3 separate regions of the Homo sapiens genome follow, and all the other regions are linked to region 1. The links are contacts of gene promoters, found by promoter capture Hi-C in blood cells and fetal thymus (Javierre and others, 2016). All regions are on one chromosome and are shown on one strand. Each heading gives the region's core, a stretch centred on a gene start or on the middle of the fragment in contact. The rest is flanking DNA. Distances are from core to core; before and after follow the strand shown.

Region 1 (2,538 bases), core at 15-2,514:
AATTAATTAATTTGTTCTGGAAGGGATCAGTGTACAATTTTAACTCAGTGCTTTGTGGATCTAGCTAAAGGTCAAGAACTAAAGTCGGCTATTAGTGCCTCTGGAAGATATTTCTGCACTTTAGCACCTTTCTGATGTTTTTCCTTCACCTCGAGCTGGCCTCACTCTCTTCAACAAAACCGAACCTGCAGGAAGAATGTTGTACCATATCCAGCATTTTTGTCCCAACAAACATGGGACAAACGTTTTTCACTAGAATCATCCTTGAACAAGTTATCCGAATTCCTTACATTCAAAGGAAATCCTGCCCCCAGTCTCCAAAACTTCATCACATCACAGACGTTCAGGATTCTTTCCATTCAAAGCAAAGCCAAGTTACATCTTATAGCACCCAGTGAATTATGATATGGGGCTGCGGTTTATTTGCTCTGGCGACAATATGGCTTACTTGCCGTGGAATATCCCGGTATTTCAGAAGTAACATATTATTTTTAAAGAGGGAGCTTTGCTTTCTCTAAATCACATGGTGCAAAGTTGGGAATACAGTGGCCTGTAAATTACAAATATTATTTACAAACTAGAAGGAAAGCTGACATGTGTTTGTGCCTGTGTGACAGTTTCACTAAGGAATTCCAAAACTGTGGATAGCCTGTTACTTGAGAAAAATACACGGTGGCAGTCTTGCAGATGTTTTTCCCGCCTGTTAGCCCTCCAGGTTCAAAAACTGTTTGGTGCATTTTAAGGCGGCAGTCTCACCAGATCGCAGGATTCTAGTCTAATTGGCTTCTAACCTTCAATCTAACCTTGCCGGCTTCCTTGCAAAGCCCGGTGCAAGGGCCTCTTTCAAAATGAACCCACTGGTGTGCCTAGCAGTCGGTAGAAGAAGCGGGAGGGCGTCCGGTCTGCACGCCCGCCGCGAGGTTACAATGCTGAACGCATGAGATGGAAGATACCAACGGGAGGCCGAGGGGATCCACGGCGCCCGCGCGGGCTCCGGCTTCCTCCTGCTCTCGGCGCCGCTGGGCGACCGCCCATGACCCGCTCTTGCGGGCTCTGTCCGGTTGACAGGCGACCCTGTGGCCCGGGGAAGCGCGGGAGGGCGCCGGCGGAAAGTTGAAGAGCGTTTTTCTCGCCGCCGCGTGCATTAGGAGCTCGACGAGTCCGCCCTGGGCTTCCTGGTGGGGCTGGGCGGGCGGGGGAGGGGCCGCGCAGCAGCAGCGGAAGCCAGACCTCGGCGATAAGAGGCTGCACAGCGACATGCAACAGTCTTTTCACTGCAGCTGAATGAGTTGTGGCGCCCACAATGCTCCCATGACAAGGAGCTGACAAGTTCCATTTTCCGTCGCGGGCATCTTGGAATCATGACTCCCACAATGCCTTGGGCACTTGGTCGACAGTGGGGCCGCCTCTGAAAAAAAAATGTGAGAGGTAAGTTTCCATTTTCACAGTTTCCCCGCGCCGCTTCATTGTTCGGACTCCGGCGGGTCTGCCCGTGGCTGAAGGAGGAAGTGCGAGGAGGTGCTCGCCGGCCGCGGTTCTCCCGGGCAGGGGCGGGCCGCTCGCGGTAGTTGGTTTCGCGTCCCTCAGCACCTCCTGCCCGGGGGAAGGCGGGAGGGTGAGCCGCAGCCGCTCCTGCGCCCTTCCCTGCCGCGGGCTCTGCGGACGCTGTCACGGCACAGCCCGCGCACGGCTTGGCAGCCCAGCGGGACCCAGGGAGAAACAGGGGGGCGAGAAGAGAAACAGGTGCGTGCAAGTGTACTCACAACTTAATGACCTTTGTCGGGGGAAGGTGTGAGTCCCTCTGAGTCGAGCGGCGCGCGGGTCTTCCCGGCGGCTCCCGCATCCCTGGCCCCGGGGCTGCCATCCCGCCCGGTTTTCATCTGGGCCAAATATGTGCACGCAAAGGTTAATTCTCTGCTTGCTACCCATAAATTACGCATGACATGTTTAGCTGGGCTGCCTTATATGGAGAGTGCTGTATTTCAGGCCAGTTTGCCTTTTGCCAAGTTTACAGGGCGGAAGACGCCCTGTAGGAGAGGGCTGCCTCCTCCTTTTCTTCTTCTTCTTTTTTTTTTCATCGTTTTGTAGTGCGTCACTCAAAAACTGTAAGAAAAGTAAGTATAGAAGCTCTTTGGGTGGAGCCGCAGTTGGTTGAATTGCTTTCATGAAAGGTTGAAAAGAATGAAAAGTAGTTAGTACTTGGGTTCTGGTTTTTAGACAAAAGCAGGACAAATATGTAGCCACCCCCCAACTTTTTTTTTTTTTTTTAAACGGAGCCGGAATCTGTTATTGGTAGTAATGTGTCATGTGAGAATACTTTGATTCCAGAGCCTGTAACACGAGCAGGTATATGGTGGCGCTTATGCCTTCCCCTCGCACAGCACTTTACAACTACAGGGGTGTTGCTGCCAGAGTAATATTGTATTCTTAAGGCTCTCTGGGGCCGGGAGAGTATGCGGCTGTTGGGATTCTGGGGTGTATTTCCGTGGAGTATGTCTCCCCAGGATTAAAGTTAAGAAGCTGCCGGAAAGGTTGTTG
Region 2 (2,538 bases), core at 17-2,516, 1.9 Mb before region 1:
CAGTAGCCAGTTTGCACCATTCCTATACATTATTCCATGACTTTAGGAAGTATACTTTGAGGTATACTCTTCAGATTTGGTTTAATAATATTAAAGGTATATTGATGGATTGTTTCCTGTATGAAAGTATTGCATGATTTCTGCTCTTAAATCAGGTGAATTAAATTTCATCTGGATTGCTTATCTCAAATTTAAAGCCTCAAATCAGACTTAAATAATTAGTATTTAGTATTTAGTTTGATTCCTTTGTACCCAAGCTAATTTTTGTTTAAAAAGAAAAAGTGCTTCCATCCTTTTAAGTAGTACATTTATTTGTGATGTTAGTGAAAGTTCTGCAGGTAACTGAGTTAATTTTATTAGTGTTTGCCTGGGACATATACCTATTATTAGGGTAGGCAGGACAAATAAGTAAAGTCTAAATGTTAAATTACTTAAAGCTTCTTTTCCCATAAGCCTTTCCTAAAATTTGTCTAAAGAATATTGCTTTGTAGAAGATGGAGTTTGTGATTAATGTGTCAATTATTGTAAATAATGATGGCATAGTTTTAAATGTTAGTTTTAGGCTGTTCATCTTATTACACAAGTATATAATTTAATCTGAATAAAGGATTCCCAAAGGTAAGTGTAAAGCCTCTAGTTTCTAAAGTAGAGTTAGTATTTAGTTTTTATCAAGTGGTTTTATATGTTAAAGCAAAACAAATCTTTGCTTGGCATACCGTCTACCTAGTCTTTGAAGACAAAACAAAGGAGGGAGGAGCTGTTTTGATCAAATAAAACCAATAGCGTGTTTAATTATGTGTTAACATATGTGAATGACCATTACAGAGACAGTAGAGTCAGACATACCCGGGCTAAAATCTAACTGCTACATTTGACTTTGAGCTAGTTGGTGTAGATGCCTTGTTTCCTCTTATGAAAAATGGGGATTGTACCTACCTGGGAGAGTTTTAAGGAATTAAATGATGTGTGCAAGTAATTTGAACAGTCTGTAACATAATATATGTGGCAAACGTGTATCACAGAAATGTTAATATTTCAGTGTCCAAACTGCTCTCCCAGATCACCCCTTTACATGTTATAAATCATACCAAGAATCTTCCATTTTAATATGAAAGCGTAATTGTATGGTATGGATGTAGTCAGAAAAAAGGAGATGATGTTTTAGTCTAGACGAGTCATGATGTTGTAAGAAGTATAGGGAATTGTGTTCCAGTCCTGGCTCTTCTATCATTTAGCTGGTTTCTTTGGTCAAGTCATTTCACTTGTCTGTTTTTCTTTTTTGAGACTTTGTCAAATTTTAAGATTCCTTCTAGCCTTATGTATATGAGACCATACATTCAAGTGTGCTTCATGAGAGAACTGCAAACTTAAACTTTCTTCTTTTTACCCCTTTCCTGCCACTTGACTATTGTGTGGCAATAAATGAAGTTTGTAAATACTCATTAAGTAGGTTGATTGCCCAAGAAAACATTTAAAACAGCTTATCAGTCATTCAGCTTTCATGATGCTCTGTGAGTAGTGAGCACTGGAATACAAATATGAGACTATGCTGCCCTCCTAGATCTCAGGCATTTTCATCATCATGAAAATGATGATCAGATGTATACTTTGACATACATTGGAGGTGGTGATGGAGTAATATAAGGTGCTAATGGGAACAATTTGAGACATCAGATCAGATTGGGATTGGGAGGGTAGTAGACTGACTTCTATTTAAAAATTATTCTCTGCATAGGTATTTATATAGTTCAAAACTCAAAATATATAAAAGAGTAAAATCGAAAGCCTCTCTGCTACCTCTGTCCTCCAGCCACCCTGTTTGTCCTTAGAAGTAACCCATTATTACTTGTACATTCTTTTGAGGCTAACTCTTGAACTAAATCTTAAAATGGTCATTCAGATTAAGTCACTAAGAAGAGAAGGGGATAGTTTTCCAAGCAGAGGTAAAAGGCAGTTTGTATAATGATGTGAAAGAGTGAGAATCTATCATTTGGAAAATGGTATTGTTAATTTGACAAGAACCAGAGTGAAGGACTTTAAATGTCATGGTAAGAAATTTCGATTTTTATAGTAAGTTGCTGTTAAAGGTATTTCTGGAAGCTTTTATTGTTAAAATAATATATATCTTGAAACGATTTCAGTATCCTTTTAGTGATTATTGCATTTTAAATTATAATCTTATGATAAAGCTGTGTTAAGGGAATACCTTCAGAGCGCTGAGTCCCAAAAATCAGAATTCTTACCTAATGAAATGTGCTAAATATTTTGGTACCCCTGGCTCTAAGTTTAAGTATTCTGTTTCCCTCAATATTACCTTGATAATGTCAGAACATTTGGTACATGTTGAGATACTCTACCAAAATTTGATTTATAGGTAGCATAATTTGGAAACTAACCTTATATTAAACACAAAGCAAGCTTACTTGTGTCAGGTCCTATGTATATAGACTTTCATTTGATCTTTCCAACAATTTGTAAGAAAGTGGTTTCTTCCCTTCCCCCTTTCTTATGGATTAAGGAAACTGAGACTCTTAAAAT
Region 3 (2,538 bases), core at 17-2,516, 1.0 Mb before region 1:
TGAGAAAAGGAATTTAAGTGTATAATGTAATCAAATTTAAGTAGCTAATCACAAATCCCCTTTTCTTTTTAGAAAGAAACAATATCAAGGTTATATGTTACTTTCTCTTTTTTCACCCTAAATTCTAAGCCACTATTGATTATCCCTGAAATGTTAGCTTGTGAATCTGGGTAATTGTTAAAAACAGAAAAGTGCAAGCTACAAATGAGAGCCTCGGTCCTTGCTTAGATGTAAATAGTTTTCCTATGAATTTAAAACATTTTTTTAAAGCCACCTAAATCCTATAAAATAATGCCAGTGTTTCAGGCTATAGAAAATGTCTCTTGAGAGTAATATCTTGTAACATGTATTACTTATATATATAAGTCAGTTTTCAACAGAGCTGCTGTGAATTACTGTTTTATGGCCTAATTCATTAAAAAGAATTGCCTAATTGTGGTGTAGAAACTTAGGCACTAAGGCAGAGTAATAAGAAAGGAACCTTGCTAAAACATGGAGCATGTTTTGGCTGAATAATATCAAGGAAACAGCTGTCAAAATACAGTGTTTGAGAATAGCTTTTTAAAATTTCTTTGTACGTAGAGTATTTTATCAGTTGCTAAGTACTTAAGAAATGCGCTATTATCCTAATTTATGAATTTCTCCAAATGCCAGTAAAATGGACAAGGGTAATTTTTGCTCTTTTTAGTCTTATGCGTTCTTAGTAAAGTCTCAAGGAAATAGCTGGAAATGCTCTGTTTTAATATGCATCGGTGGTAGTCTTTAAACAGTGGGAATACTTCTTTTTATGTTTTCAGCTTACATGTTTTCAATACAAAGCATTAATAAAACATTTTTTAAAGCTACCTAAATCCTATAAAATAATGCCAGTGTTTTAGGGTATAGAAAATGTCTCTTGAGAGTAATATCTTGTAACATTTATTACTTATATATATATATAAGTCAGTTTTCAACAGAGCTGCTGTGAATTACTGTTTTATGGCCTAATTTGTTAAAAAGAATTCAGTCTATGCTAATGACATGGTAATTTTCTAACATATATACAAAGAGGAAGAAAATATGGTGAGCATACTGCTCTCCATTTTCTGTGCTGAGTTAAACTGCTATTTGTACAGAAATGAAACTGGATTATCCCTGCCCTAGTCAAGGCATGTCCTAGGCAGAACCATAACATGAGTTCTAAATGGAAGCTTCCAGGTTTCTCCATTTTGTCTAATTTGTGAGTTAGACATTTTGTCAAATTTTGCCTAATTTGTTTCAAATTTTGTCTAATTTGTGAGTTCATTCCCATTAGTGGTTTTTTAAATCTAGAATGTTACTGAGGCTGAGCATAGAGCCTTTAGTAAGCTTTGAAAACACATTTCTTCTAACCTATAGGGCATTTATAAGTGAGTCAGCAGTGTTTACAAAGCACTTGTTCTCTGCAGAGAGCTACTAACAGATGAAATGGAGGAATCAAGGAAGCAATTTAAGATGTATCATAGACCTAAAGGTAAAACTAAGACCACAAAGCTTCTAGAGGAAAATGTAAAATACCTTCCCAACCTTCGGTTGGTTTTAGTATGCAAAATTTTTTAGCCACAAAACAAAAAAAATTAAGTTTTCTGAGCGTCTTCCTGACGAGAAAGAAGAATTGTGGTCTGGTTCTTGAACTTTCCTAGCGGTGTGACCCCCAAAACCAAGACTACTTCCTGCTCTGAGACCGGAGGAGACATTGGCCTCTCTGGGCTTGCTGAAGAAGGGAGAAAAAGAACAGAAAGAAGCAATTGAATATATTGACGACGTACAAAAGGAAATACAGGCTGGGCGCGGTGGCTTATGCCTATACTCTGGGAGGCCAAGGTGGGTGGATCACCTGAGGTCGGGAGTTCGAGACCAGCCTGACCAACATGCAGAAACCCCATCTCTACTAAAAATACAAAATTAGCCAGGTGTGGTGGTGCATGCCTGTAATCCCAGCTACTTGGGAGGCTGAGGCAGGAGAATCACTAGAACCTGGGAGGTGGAGGTTGCAGTGACCTGAGATCGTGCCATTGCACTCCAGCCTGGGCAACAAGAGTGAAACTCCATCACACACACACACACACACACACACACACACACACACACACACAAAATTCAGAGACTTAATGAACAAGCCAGTGGGGAGATTGTGAAAGCAGAACAGAAGTATAACAAATTCTGCCAACCATTTTTTGGAAGAGGTCAAAATTGATTGCCCAAATTTCAAATTTTTGGGTAACAGCATTTGTCAGCCATCCACAAGTGTCTACATTACTTGGGGAGGAAGACAAAGAGGCACTGTATTATTTGACGAGTTGAAGTGACAGAATTTGGAGGTATTAAATCAGGTTACAGAAAGATTTTTATTTTGATGAAAATCTTTAGTTTGAAAATAAAGTTCTCTCCAAGGAATTTCATCTGAATGAGAGTGGTGATCTATTTTTAGAGTCCACTGAAGTCAAATGCAAATCTGGAAAGGATATAATGAAAACGTTCCAGTCAAACGCAGAGTAAAGTCAGCAGGAAGAGGCAGCA

The links. The method cuts DNA at HindIII sites, captures the fragments that hold promoters and counts their contacts. A CHiCAGO score of 5 or more calls a contact.
Region 2: a contact is called between a fragment that was not itself captured here and the fragment with the promoter of MBNL1 in region 1, in 1 of 17 cell types (naive B cells). The highest score is 6.5, in naive B cells.
Region 3: a fragment that was not itself captured here is called in contact with the fragment with the promoter of MBNL1 in region 1 in 1 of 17 cell types (naive B cells); the score reaches 8.5 in naive B cells.

What each region holds. Positions count from the first base shown.
Region 1 is chr3:152,267,665-152,270,202 of GRCh38, forward strand. It overlaps MBNL1 (muscleblind like splicing regulator 1), which reads left to right and starts at 1,265. Exons shown (of 10, transcript NM_021038.5): 1 at 1,265-1,428. MBNL1-AS1 (MBNL1 antisense RNA 1) reads right to left here and starts at 1,962. Exons shown (of 2, transcript NR_027038.1): 1 at 1,764-1,962; 2 at 1-1,408. RefSeq lists enhancers at 468-1,310, 753-852, 1,311-2,152 and silencers at 1,043-1,102, 1,153-1,202, 1,603-1,712. The HindIII fragment of the contact is 10,088 bases long and covers 1-2,538 here.
Region 2 is chr3:150,416,688-150,419,225 of GRCh38, forward strand. The region is part of intron 1 of TSC22D2 (TSC22 domain family member 2); the gene reads left to right. Among named protein-coding and RNA genes, the nearest start is that of TSC22D2, 9.7 kb to the left of the region's middle. The HindIII fragment of the contact is 1,663 bases long and covers 436-2,098 here.
Region 3 is chr3:151,267,328-151,269,865 of GRCh38, forward strand. The region is part of intron 16 of MED12L (mediator complex subunit 12L); the gene reads left to right. All of the region lies in intron 1 of P2RY14 (purinergic receptor P2Y14), which reads right to left. It also overlaps the pseudogene SETP11. Among named protein-coding and RNA genes, the nearest start is that of P2RY14, 9.9 kb to the right of the region's middle. RefSeq lists an enhancer at 1,521-1,590. The HindIII fragment of the contact is 157 bases long and covers 1,189-1,345 here.